Regions from separate parts of the Homo sapiens genome. Here regions 1, 3 and 4 are each linked to region 2. Evidence: promoter capture Hi-C in 16 types of primary human blood cells and fetal thymus (Javierre and others, 2016). All regions are on one chromosome and are shown on one strand. The core of a region is centred on a gene start or on the middle of the fragment in contact, and the rest is flanking DNA. Distances in the headings are between cores, read along the strand shown.

Region 1 (3,269 bases), core at 487-2,986, 580 kb before region 2:
TTGCCATCTTAACCTTAAGATGAATAGATGTAACCATATGGATATACATACATGTATGTATATACATGTATCATTTTAGCTTTTTTTTTCTGTCAGAGGAAAGCTGCAACATACTAAAGTTTGACAGTAATCCCTAGAATCTTAATTTGTAAAAAGTAAAAAACTACAAGGTTTCTACTTTCAAAACAGTTATAGTCTTTACTCAAAATGTAAATTAATAAATGTATAAAGTTTGTAATAGTATAATAATGTATAATAATAGTATAAATGAAGTTGCATAACCTGCTTTTAAAATGTGTGTAATTTTATGTATTTGACAACTTAAGCATGATAAACACTTAACTGTTTATATTCTACAAGCTCAGTGTAATGTAAAAAATTTGCTAAAGTCATTTTGTTTTAACTTCAAGTAAACAATGTTTTCTGAATTTTTTTTGGCATATGTGTGATTACTGTTACAGGTGATTAAATATCTTGTTTGAACTTTGGTTTAGGAAGTTTTAATAATTAATAGTATTTGAATCATAAAATCACTCCTGAGTTTCATTAACCATGGTGGTATGATTCTTTGGATGTTATTTCTCTTTTCTTTGCCAACATACTGTTTTATGGATTTCTCAGGTTTTACTGTTGTATTTACAACTCTAAAAGTAAGAAAAAAATCACACTCTTTTTCTAGAAAGTTTCTTAAATGCATATAGTGGTATTAACCAAATATAAATGCAGTCACTTATATTTCTTACATAGCTATAACCACCATCCTCATTAACACAATAAAGTACAACCAAGACGAAAAATAATTACAAATTATCTTGGAGAATGTCAAAATTTCTCAGCACATATTTGCGGATTCCTTGAGATCTATGACCCAGTTTGTTAAACAGTTCACTTAACCACTTTATGTTTTAGTATTCAAATAAAAACATTGCTAATAATGATATCTCCTCTTGCGTACTAATTAATAAAGAAAAACTACAAATGTTTTTCAATAAAGTTGAGGTACATGTTACTTTTATAATTTCCTTTAGGAGTTGTGGGTGGGTTGAGTACCAATGCAGCTTCATCACAATTTAAGTCATTAGTTTTGAATTTGTCTTTCCTGTGATTTCAGGATCTTTACTCATTTATTGTCTTCATTTTAGTATAATTTGCTTTTGAAAAACATCCAAATTTTAATTGATGCAAGAAATTGAAATAAAATAAATGGCAGGGATAGAAGTTGGGGATCGTTAGGGTTCTTTCCAGATTGTGTTACTCTAATGCAAGTGTCAGCACACTTTTTCTGTAAAAGGCCAGATAGTAAATATTTAGGCCTTAGGAACCTGGCTCAACTCTGCTTTTTTAGTGCAAAAGCAGCCATTGACAATACATAAATGAATGAGCATTGCTATTTTCCAAGAAAACTTTTTTTTTTTTAATACAAAAACAGGCAGCAGGTCTTAGTTTGCTGACTCCTGTGCTACACATATTTTGGATGACACTGCCTATGTGAACAAGGGCTCACTTATTTATTTTTTTAAGTGGAGATCTTAATGGCCTCTCTATTGGTGGCCTTTCCCACCACTGTACAATTTACACGTCCTGAAAAGCCTGTTAATATACCAGTTATAATATTGCTGTTTTCTTATTTTCCAATATCTAAGCCCTTTGACCTGTGGACTCTGCCCAACCTGTTCCTGAGCCAAGGTATTTAATAATCCTATTCTTGGATGGGGATTAATCTGTCTTTTTAGTCCAGTAATCACGTGCCTATATTGAGTCCATAAGTGCCAACAAGCTCTAGTTTTCTCCTACCATTGCCACCCTGTTTGCTCAGATTGAAGATTGATAATATGTCTAATACTAGCAAACTTGTTTCTCCTGGGTTCTGGTGGGACTATAGCTTCTTACACCCAAGCAGGGAGTCTTTATGCTCTTGCTCTTTCATATATAGGGTGAATCTAAAGGAAACATACTATTCCCACCAGCTGTCTTTTTTCTTTTTTTTTTTTTTTGAGACAGAGCCTCGCTCTGTCGCCCAGGCTGGAGTGCAGTGGCGCGATCTCAGCTCACTGCAAGCTCCGCCTCCCGGGTTCACGCCATTCTCCCGCCTAGTAGCTGGGACCACAGGTGCCCGCCACCACGCCCGGCTAATTTTTTGTATTTTTAGTAGAGACGGGGTTTCTCCGTGTTAGCCAGGATGGTCTCGATCTCCTGACCTCGTGATCCCCTCGCCTCGGCCTCCCAAAGTGCTGGGACCACAGGCGTGAGCCACCGCGCCCGGCCCCCACCAGCTGTCTTTAAGTACCGCCACTACACAAAGATTCTTTCCATAGTGTGCCTTCTACCAGATGAGATTATCTAGAAACTGGTAGTAGCCTGGATCAAAGCTATATTCTTCTTCATAACCCCTTGAATACTCTAATTTGGCTGCTAGATACCTTTCTTTGAGGCAAACCGATTCTCCCAGCCCCAACCCTGCCTATTCCCAGCTATTAATTATTTTGCCTAGGGCCCATCAGTCCTTACACCTGAAATCAATCTTCTCTTACTCAAGACACAAACAAATTAAAGGAGCAATAACTTTAAGATAACTTCCTGAAAAATAATTGGAGGCTTTATATTGGCTCATTTTCTTCCCCTTCATTGTTTCTTACTTTCTTCCTTACCTTTCTTCTTTCCTTCTTTTATTTCTTTAGTAATTGATGTATGAAAAACAGAATAATTACAATCTTGACCGTTCTTTCTTATATATAGCCCACTACTTTTATATTAATGTATTTCTGATAACATACCTGAGAGCTGAAATTATGTATTACAGTCACTTCCTAAAATTATGGTTCCTGCTTGTGTCCTACTTCTTTCAGGCCCCATACACCAGTAGTCAGGGGAGATTCTTCCCTGCTTTGGAGTCTGATAGAGATGGAGTTGCACAGCCAGCATCCGGAGATAATAAATTTAGAATTACCACTTTCTAAAAGGAAGATTAGGGGTTTGATAGCTGCCGACTTTATCCACAGTCTTAAATATGTAAGCCCAACCTGCTTGGGTAGTACTCAGGGAAAGGCAGACCATTTCTGCTTTCCTCTGGACCATGTATCAAGAGGGACCTAGCAGATCTTTTTTCAGTCTTTGTGATGAGCCTCTCCTGTCTTCAAATAGCCTGGTATTTTCCAGCGTTGTTAAGGTAGGAGGGGGAGGAACGTTTTGTGAGAACAGCTTTAAGATTGGAGGAGGCTGGACCAGTAGACCTGTGTGAACCATAGGTTCAGTTAAGAGAGCAAACCCAT
Region 2 (3,662 bases), core at 631-3,130:
GAACCTGAGGAGGGCTGGGCATCCAGATGAAAGCTCTGGATGACTCATTTCTTCAACTATTGCTTTTTTCTTCCCTTTCAGGCTTGAACCCAGTGCTGACCCCCTCCCAAGAACTTCTTGTTCTTGCTTCCAGAGGATTGGAACTGTTCCAGGGGTAGCACTTAGAGAGCAGGACATGCCCATAAGCTTGAGGAAGGTACTGCTTACAAGAAATGAGTCACAGCAACTCCATTGCTTCCAACAACAAAGTGGATGAAAAACACTCAAGCCCCACTAAACAATACTCGGAGTTTTGCTGCGACAGACTGGTTAGACTATTTGGACACTACCATGAAGACTATATCCACCATTCTGCCTTCAAAGGAGGAGACTGCAGAGAGAAAAGGGGAAGAGGAACAGGAGGAAAAAGGGGGAGGGGAGGAAGTGGAGGAGGGGAAGAAGGACGTAATAGAGGAAGAGATATAGTTTTATTGTCACATAGAAATGACAGTAGGAATCAATTTTTTCACTGTTGGTCTTTAGGAAATCATCTGACTTTCTCTGAGTTAGAGTATGATCGATTATTAGAAAATGGTAAAATGTGTTAAAAACTCTCTTTGTACGGTTTTGTGAGAAATGTGTAATGCTTAAAGACTAACCAAGAGCCTCTTGGCTAAACCAGGTTGATGTCAACAATAGCTAGTACTTATTTGAGTCACCTTGATTTTCCCTCCTCTTGAGAACTTTCTCTAACCAGTTTAGGCTGCAGTCATGCCTCCTTTCCTTTCTCTGAACTCTCACAATTATTGCCTAGATCTCGTTTGGTAATTAATCATGTGCTACTTACTGCCTGTGTCATCTCTTGTATTGTTTTCTTAAAATATTTACACTTTTTTTTCGGTTGTCACTTATCTTTCCAGCTGTCATTTTCTTCAACTATTTACGTCTCTGTTACTCATCTTTCCAGCCATCCTGGCATCCCATTAAGGTGAAAGCTCTCTGAGGCAGGAACCTTTTCTCAGATTTCTTCGAGTCTTCCACAGCACCCCACATTTGACACACATCTGCTACTTCGCAAATGTGTGCTGCCTTGGCTAAATTTTTAGAAGCTGAACTTTTAGGAAAGCTACTATTTTTGAACTCAGAAAAATACCTACCATCCACTAAACAGCTGTACCGAAGTTTGGGTGACAGGGAACCTAAGTTCACTTGTTGCATCTGGCAGCCTCAAACCATGAACCCTCACTGCAAAGCGAGGATGAACGCGCTGCTGCACCTTGGAGAGCTCTTTCGGACAGGTACGGAGGGGAGGGCGTAGAAGAGGGCTGGCACCAGCAGCGCGGTCCAGTCCTCCGAACGGACTGATGGGACTGATGGGAGAGACCTCTTGCACCTCTCGGGGATGTGCGCCTCGGAGGATGCGAATTAGCTTGCGCACAGGGCGCCTTGGGGATAGCGCTGTCCAAGTACAGGCTTGGGTGATGGCTGGTGGGGTCCGGGTCGACATTTTCCCTTCCCGCTCCCGGACTTCTGCACACACGCGCTGCTCGGCGCAGCCGTCTTTGCCCGGCGCCTTCCTCCGGGACACCCAGCGAGAGGGGTGACCGGGCGGCGGCGGGAGAGGCGCACGCTCCCGGGCGCGGGCGAACTTGCGCACCTGGCACCTGCCACACAGCGAAAGCACCGGCCAGCGAGCGGAGGGGCGCCGCCCCCGCCCCCTCTCCCCGGAGCGGACCGAGACCGAGCACGCTCCCGCGGGCCGGCAGCGCCGCGGAGAGAGTGGGTGGGCAGGCGAGGGAGGGGAAGGGAGAGGAAGGAGGGAGGGAGGGAGAGGGCGAGGCGCGTTCCCGCGACGGGGGCGCGCTCTCGCGCGGGCTGCCGGGATCGCTCGCCGCCGCTGTGGTAATGTCCGCCATGTTGGCCATGGCGCAGGGAGCGGATCGGGCGGGCGAGCGGCGGATCTAGTGTGTGGAGGCGGCCGCGGGCGCGGGGGGCTGTTTTCGGGCGGGGTGGGCGCCCATGCTGTGGCCGGGGGCAGTGAGGAGGAGGAGGAGCGGGCCGGCCGCGCTGCACTGAGGAAGGAGGTGGAGGAGGCGGCGGGAGTCCTCCCCCCCTCCCCGCCCGCCCCGCCGCCGCCGCCCGGGCTGTTCCTGTAAGGCGGGGAGACAATGAGTAAACTCTCCTTCCGAGCGCGGGCGCTGGACGCCGCCAAGCCGCTGCCTATCTACCGCGGCAAGGACATGCCTGATCTCAACGACTGCGTCTCCATCAACCGGGCCGTGCCCCAGATGCCCACCGGGATGGAGAAGGAGGAGGAATCGGTAGGGACTCGAGTGTTTATTACCCCCCCTTCCCTCCTCCCCCCTCCCCTTTGTCAGTCGGGCCTCGCCATTCACAGAGCGCTTTACGCTCGCTGGAGGGCGCCGCTGCCGCTCTAACGCACGGGACTCTACGCCGGCGGAGTAGCGTAAACCCTCTCGGCCGGCGTAGCGCCCGCCCGCGGCCGCCATGTTGTTGCGTCCCAGTGTTGTGATTAGCTCGCAGCGCTGCTTACGCTGCCGTAAGGGGGCCTTGCCGTAAGCGGCGGCCGGGAATGGCGCAGGGGATGCGCTGGCCGCTCTTGGCGTACGGTCTCTGTTTACCTTTCCACCTCCCTCTCTCAGGCGCGGGGCTAATTAATGGCGTGGTATTATTTGGCTAGGCAAGATTATTATTTTTTCCACTTTTAACTTTGGCTTTGTATTGAGTTCTCTTTGAAATGACTGTGGAAGGGTGCTTTCAAAACAAACATCTTCCTCCCAGCAATGTAATCATCCTGGCTCCCCCGCCCGCGAAGGTGCAGCGGGATGAGGCGGTGCAGCACTGCGGCGGGGGAGGGCGGGGGCCACGACTACCGAGCGGGTCGTAGCGTCCGAGGGCCGCCCGCCGGCCAGTTCTGCCGACCCGAGCCGGGCGCGGGGCGGACGGGCTCTGCCTGCTCCGCCTGGACGGCCGTGCTCCGTGCGCAACGTTAGAGAGGAGCCGGGGATGCCCGGAAGCGAGCCGCCGGCGTTGCGTTGTCCTCGAGAATTGTCATTGCGAGGTGGTCCTTAGAAGTTGAGGACCTAGTGCATCTAAATTGGCAGTTGTAATTTTGATAATACAGCACCTTTTGGGAAAATTGCTGCTTTTCCTCCGATGGGTTAAATTTTGCAGACGGTTGGATTTCATCTGGCTTGACAGAGAGTGTTTATGACTCGAGTGGTGTTACTTGCGTGCGAAGTTCATAGTAACTGCACCCTCAAGAATTTCTTCAATGAACCTACAGTCCCGCCTTATTGTCAACCTCGGGTGTGTGTGGATTGGTTCTCTTGCTTCAGTGACTGTCAAAAGGAAGCTCGAGGTTTCAGTGATTGGTTTTCTCTTTTGACTATTAATATTGCAGGAAATGCTTTTATGCCTTCGATTGGCTGGTTGAGTTCTGACCTCATTATGTTACCCTGTTAATACTACTTTGCTCTTATTTAATCACATTTCTCTTTGATGTATAGTTACTTGAAAGTCTTACATTTTCAGTAGAAAATGCATATGGCCGTAGCATCGGGATGAACTTAACTGTGTGTGTACACACACAAATATGTAATAGATATATATACACGCACATACACATATATATTTGTGTGTGCATATATATAAATATGTTT
Region 3 (3,293 bases), core at 13-2,512, 600 kb before region 2:
TTCCCCAAGTTAGAAATATCATAGTCCTCTTCCACCCCTTCTTTACCTCCATAGTCAGCCTATCACCAAATCGTATAGAATTGTTTTCCTTCCTAATTCCTAAGTCCGCTCAGTTCTATCTTTGTGTTATGCACATTGCTGCTAGTTTAGTTCATTCCTTGACTAGAGAATGGTAGTAAGTAATCTCCTTAGCTAATTAATCTGCCTCTGACTTTTCTGTACTCTGGGCCATATTCTGTCTTTTGCTGAGTTGTTACCAAACATAAACCTGGTTATGTCACTACCCTAATTAAAAACCTTGTGGATTGTTCCTTTTTATTGGTTTATATAAAATCCTATTTTCAATCTGAAGTATAAGCCCTTCATCTTTATATCTTATGTCAACTTAGACCTCCAGCTTCATCTCCCATTACTTTTCCCCTTATGATGTCTTTCATCGCAGCTAACCAACCCACTTCCTCTTCAAGATTATGTTGTGCTCCTTCAGGTCTCCTTGGCTTTATTCACATGCTGTCTTTTGTACAGTGCCTCTTGCCTTATCCACTGTCTCCCCCAACATAGTTTTACTGCAAATCCCAAATCAGGTGTCACTTCTTATCAAATCATCCTGGCCATCCTCAATTTTCCCCTTCTTAGTTAATGATGCACTCATTTAACTTTTATGATCATATAAGATGGTTGTTTTTTTACTTCTAGTGTCAGTCACCAAGATTATCAAGTTCTTGCTTTGTTTTCTTTTGCATCTTCAAATCTAGCTCAAGCCATAACTAAGACCATGACCTTTACTAAGGGTCATACAAACCTGAATTGAAGTAAGGGCTCTGCAACCAAAAGAAATGGAGTACATTTTGCGTGGAGACAGAGGAAGTTTTAAAAAGGATCATGGGCAATGGCAATTCTAGATGTTTTTTACATCCTGCTTGGCCAGAATTAAGCAGATAATACCTGAATATACGAGAAGGCCAAATTGGGAGATGTAGAAATTGTTAACCAATATTTTTACCAAGTGCCTTGATAAATGTTTGTGTTTGTGCCACACAGGCACTAGGGGTACAAAGATGAATAAGAAAGGAACTCTGCCTTTGAAGAAATTTAGAGTGACTAGGGGAGAAAGACATGTAAATAAATGTATAAGGTCATCTAGAGTATTCATTTAATGAAGTAATTGTAAAGAACAGCAAGCAACCACTTAGGATGAGAATACCTCCTTTGGCAGAATGGCCCTAAGTCCAAAGTGATACCTTAGCTAAATTTTAAGTTATGAGTTGGAATTCTACAATTGCATAAGATGGTAAGGGCTTCCTAGACTAAGAGAACAGCATGTGCAAAGACACGAGTTACAAAAGCAGCAAAACTAGAGAAACCATTGTTTGTGAGATCTCATACATAGAGTTGTTTATTTTAGAAAGCCTCACAAAGAAGCCTCTAGTAAGATACTGTAGATAATTCCCAACTTAAATATGCTGTCTTGAAACAATCCTCTTATATCAATTTATTCATTGTTCTTTCCCTTTGAAGTCTAAGGTGGATAGGGGCATAAACTTTGGTGATGATTAATTTAAGTTCAGATCCTGAAACATTCTGTCTCTGTAAAGCATCATTTTACCTGTTCAAAAAAAGGTTACTAACTACCTCCTTCTCATGGTTTTTGGAAGATTCAGAGGGATAATGCATACAAAGTTGTTGACACAATGCCTGGTCCGTCTCAGTAGGACTCGAGAAATGTTAACATATATTAAGGCTCCTGATAGGCCTTTTTTGGTTTCCCACCCATTTATTTAAGAAATTGTTTTTTAAATGCTTACTACTTATTAGGTGCTGGAATTATGAAGATGAGTAAACACAACATCTGCCTTTGAAGAATTTATAGTTTAGTGAGGATATGCACATACCTATGTTGAAAATCAACAATAATAATACAACCTGGCAAATGCTTTAGTGGAGAGTTTTGTGAGAAAATAAGAACTGAGAAAAGAAGCCGCCAAATCTATTTTTGGACATTAGCAAAGTCTTCTTCAGGGAGCACTGACCTGAAGAATGAAGAGCAGTTTGCTGTTTTGGAGTTGGAGAGTAGAGAAGAGTAAGGCTTTCCAGGAATGAGGAAGAACATATTCAAAAGGAGGGTCAAGGTAACATGACTTGTTCAGTAAAAGACAAATGATAAGAAAACCACTAAAAGAGAAAAGAATGGAGTAGAAAACAGAGGACTGAATGTACTCAGGGGAAACTCTGTGGTTGAAAAGTCCCCCAGAAGGCCTAAAGTTACTACTTTGCTCCCTTGAGAAAAGAAGTGAATAAATTTCCTAGGGTGGGTATGAGATAAGCCTCTCTGTGAAAAATTGCCCTGTCTCATCCTGGGATGTTGGAATAGTCTAGTCCACTCTTCTTACATGAATTCTTGTGTACTCCCAGAAAGTACTGCAGTGCTCAAAGGGTGAGGCAGGAGGAGCAAAGAAATAGAATTTCATTAGTGATGTTAGTGTCTGAGAAGTGGTGCCAGCAAGAGTCATATTGACCACATTGTGGGAAATGGTAAAAAAGAAGCATTTTCCTGTGGTTGCTGGGAGTTTCTGGTAACATGTGATGGATTGACTGGACTGTAGCTTGACTAGACAGTGGCATCAACCTGTGTATTCACTGGTTCTCAGCTGCCCAGTGATTGTACCCAGAAACTGGACATCACCTTAGCTCTTTAGAAGCTAGAAATCTTGTGGCAAGTGGATTTCGTGCACCATCCATTCTTCACTTTGCTTTGAACCAAGGGAGGAATTTGGATAGCACTAGAAATTTATGGAAATCTGTCAGTGGGAGCTAGCCATAGAATAATTGTTATGCTGTGGTTTTGCACTCCAGCTGTATTTCTAGCTAGTTAGGACTATGGCAATATCTTTTGAACAAGAAAGCAAACAGGAAAAATAACTGAAATTTGTTGAGTAATTACTGTTTACCTAGTACTGTAGTACTTGCTTTCTGTGGGGGAGAAGGGTGGCTTTCATTTTTTATTGAGGTAAAATCCACATAGCATGAAATTTACAATTTAAATCATTTTAGAGCATGCAATTCCTTGGTTTTCAGCATATTCACATTTTTGTGGAGCCATCACCAAATCTAATTCCAGAATATTTCTATCTCCCTGAAAAGAAACCCTATACCTGTTAGCAGTAACTTCCAAGTACCTCCCTCCTTCCCATATCGTCTGGCAACTTCTAGTCTACTTTCTAACTATATAGATTTGCTTATTCTGGACATTTCATATAAATGAATTTATATAATATGTGGCCTTTTGTGTCTGG
Region 4 (3,167 bases), core at 598-3,097, 790 kb before region 2:
TATGTGCAGGACACTTATGTATTTTTATATTACATTTCATTTAAAAAACATTGATCGTGACCCATTAATTGATTCATTGACCAACTAATGGATTGTAAATCCCTAAAACCAGTGACCTAGTTCAACAATCCTTATTTCCTGTATTCAGTACTCTCTTAGTGGAAAAGGAAGCTTCATATGTAAATGTGTGCAATGAAAAATATATGCACTGAAAAATATGGTCATTAATTAATCTACAATAGAGACTGTGTGCCTAGGTATAGAATATAGGGAAAACTGGTCTCAAGGGAGAACATGGCTCTTCCCTGATTAAGGTCTTCTCTCTTTTGGACTAGTCGAATAAATTAAGCACACACGAAGGCGCTGAAACAACATTAGATTGTAATTTTGGGGAGTTGGGATTTTTTAATTTAGGAAAGACTTGCTGGACTTAGTACTGGAAAAAAAGTCTTAGACGGAGATTAGGAAGGATGTTAATATGAAGGAAAAGACACAAAATAGCATCAGGAACACAATAGCCATTTGAGAGTAAACTTGACCATGGATGAAGGCAAGGTGGGATGGAGAAATTTTGACTAAATCTGAGGAAGAGATTTGTGTGATGAAGAGAGTTCACAATTGCTTGAAGAAGTAGGACAATCTCAGGGGGTTAACCCTTAAATTCAAATGAAAAGTAATTAAAACTGAGGAGGTAAGAGTGGATGATACATATCCTGATGTATGTCCCAAATACCCCATATGTGGATATAGGACTGAAAAGCAACTCGAAGACTAAGGTAGAATGGTAGCACTACTAAATAAAATTGGTAAGGAAGTAATGAGCCAGAGGAAAATTGAAAGTGCCTTCATAACTAAAAAAGTTTACAGATAGATATAGTTTTAGATGATAAGCATGAATAGAAATAAAGACATGTATTTGGAAAAATAAGAGTACATAATAAAACATGATAACGTAATATTCTCTTAAAGAGGCAGACACTGTATGATGGATATGTCTTCATTGTGAAGTCTAGTTAAAGAATTCTAAACATTAGTGGCTCAATATGTTGTTTATGTTTAAATGATGGTCAAATTTCAGTAATTACTCATACTGGTCATCCAGATTATATTCTTTGAAATCTGTATGAGACCCTACAGTAAAATACACTGTTCTAAGGAAGTAGATTTAGATGCTTTTCTGAATTTGGTATATGGTATTCACGCTTGAAACCTAAACTTTTCAGTGACCATTCTTTTGGACTAGTTTTTTCTTTGGTTGGCTGTAGTCACACTGGGAATTACTTTATTCTCTAATATTGCTAAAGAAAATAAATGTAAAGCAAGAAGAGAGTTACTACATTAGAAGGACTGGCTACACATGTGGGGAGGGGTTGCCTTTCAAAAGATTTTAAAAATGAATCAAGTCTTTACATATTGTAATAAAAGTAAGCCTATTTATAAAGCTTAGAGGGAGGAGTTTTCGTAGTTATGATTATTAACTTTAAAATTTTTATTTTAAAGGAAAAGTTTATTGTTCTTCCCATCTTCATAACTATATGTGATATATCAAGCTTGCTCCAAGGCATTATTTCAAGAGGAAGGGGCATGGACAAGTTATGAGATCTTGGCACATTTCTAAAACTCTGAGATTAACTTTTAAAATTTGTAAACCAAGATGTATTAAATGAATTGATAACTCCACATAACATGGTAGCTGGTCCAGAGTAGATCTTACATATTAGTTTTTAATCTATCTTTAAGTCCCATTTAAAAGGATATGGTATGTAAAACATTAAAAAATATAGATTTGGTTCTTGGGGGATATTTACATTTGCAGGTTACTTATCAGTCAGTTAATGTGAAATAATACTCTGACTAAATGATACAGCCAAAGAACATATCATTATAGAGAGCCAGATAGCTGCCAATAAATATCTAGAATATTCAGATATCGTGGTTCCTTACAAAGAGTTCTTTAAGGTCTCACTGTTTTAGCATGCATTAAAAAGAAACAATGGACTAAATCGTCTCTATTTATTAGTGGGAATTTAAAATATCTTTTTTTCTTGGACAACTTCTCTTAAACTTTTTAAGTGTTTTAAAACTTTTTAGTAGAAGTAAAGTTTTGAAAGATTCTCAAGTCTGTTTTTTAGGTACCAGCTACTTTAAGCTTTGAAAACACAAAGCTATTCAATGACTGTACTTTGAGATCAATATTTTGAATGTGGTATAATATTTTGGACTAAAACTTAAGAGTCTGTCATTCAAATTCCTACTTTCCTACTGACTCTTCTTTGACCTTTGACAGCCATTAAGATTTCACTTTACTCACCCTAAATTAAAGAGGGTGAAATAGGTATTCATTCACTTAACAAATCAATATTGAACTACATGCTAGACACTATGGTAAGTGCTTGGGATACATTATTAAACATGAAGACAGATATGATTATGCCTTTCTGAAGCTTATAGTCATAAAGTAAGTAGTCAAATGAACAACATAATTACAGATTGTCATACGTGCTCGGACAGAAACTAACAGGGTGCCGAGAGGATTACTCTTTATTTGCCTTATCACATATCACATCTGTTTACTTTATCTGCCTATTTCTTTTTTTTTTGAGACTGAGTCTCGCTCTGTTGGCCAGGCTGGAGTGCAGTGGTGCAATCTTGGCTTACCACAACCCCAGCCTTCCAGTTCAAGTGATTCTCCTGCCTCAGCCTCCTGAGTAACTGGGACTACAGGCATGCGCCACCATGCCTGGCTAATTTTTGTATTTTTGGTAGAGAGGGGGTTTAACCATGTTGGGCAGGCTGGTCTCGAACTCCTGTCTCAAGTGATCTGCCCTCCTTGGCCTCCCAAAGTGCTGGGATTACAGGTGTGAGCCACCGCGCCTGGCCTATTTCTTATTTGTCCTTTCTAATATTAGAATGTAAGCTCTACTGGGGTGGGGAAGGGTGTGACTTTTTCTTAATACTTCCAATGCATGGCACAGTTTCTGGCACAGAGGCGAAGCTCAGTGAATATTTAACTAGCTGCCTGAAGCAATGAATGCAGTGATGGGACTGGAGAGATAGGGACAGGATCATGCAGGTCTTTGATGTAACAGGGGAAGGAGTTAGAATAAAATGCAAATGGCAGTGTGAAGCAAAGAGTTTTAAGGAAGAGCAGATCTGGGTTATGTGTT

Evidence for each region. The method cuts DNA at HindIII sites, captures the fragments that hold promoters and counts their contacts. A CHiCAGO score of 5 or more calls a contact.
Region 1: a fragment that was not itself captured here is called in contact with the fragment with the promoter of EPC2 in region 2 in 1 of 17 cell types (naive CD8 T cells); the score reaches 5.4 in naive CD8 T cells.
Region 3: a fragment that was not itself captured here is called in contact with the fragment with the promoter of EPC2 in region 2 in 3 of 17 cell types (naive CD8 T cells, naive B cells and total B cells); the score reaches 6.0 in naive CD8 T cells.
Region 4: a fragment that was not itself captured here is called in contact with the fragment with the promoter of EPC2 in region 2 in 1 of 17 cell types (total B cells); the score reaches 5.7 in total B cells.

Annotation. Positions count from the first base shown.
Region 1 is chr2:148,062,150-148,065,418 of GRCh38, forward strand. All of the region lies in intron 1 of MBD5 (methyl-CpG binding domain protein 5), which reads left to right. The region is part of intron 1 of LOC105373673 (a long non-coding RNA gene); the gene reads right to left. Among named protein-coding and RNA genes, the nearest start is that of MBD5, 43 kb to the left of the region's middle. The HindIII fragment of the contact is 4,081 bases long and covers 1-3,269 here.
Region 2 is chr2:148,642,871-148,646,532 of GRCh38, forward strand. It overlaps EPC2 (enhancer of polycomb 2), which reads left to right and starts at 1,881. Exons shown (of 14, transcript NM_015630.4): 1 at 1,881-2,300. The coding sequence starts at 2,148. RefSeq lists silencers at 1,535-2,114, 2,875-2,964 and enhancers at 1,954-2,458, 3,055-3,204. The HindIII fragment of the contact is 14,369 bases long and covers 185-3,662 here.
Region 3 is chr2:148,046,544-148,049,836 of GRCh38, forward strand. All of the region lies in intron 1 of MBD5 (methyl-CpG binding domain protein 5), which reads left to right. The region is part of intron 1 of LOC105373673 (a long non-coding RNA gene); the gene reads right to left. Among named protein-coding and RNA genes, the nearest start is that of MBD5, 27 kb to the left of the region's middle. RefSeq lists an enhancer at 1,925-2,014. The HindIII fragment of the contact is 7,418 bases long and covers 1-3,293 here.
Region 4 is chr2:147,852,300-147,855,466 of GRCh38, forward strand. The region is part of intron 1 of ACVR2A (activin A receptor type 2A); the gene reads left to right. Among named protein-coding and RNA genes, the nearest start is that of ACVR2A, 8.9 kb to the left of the region's middle. The HindIII fragment of the contact is 599 bases long and covers 1,549-2,147 here.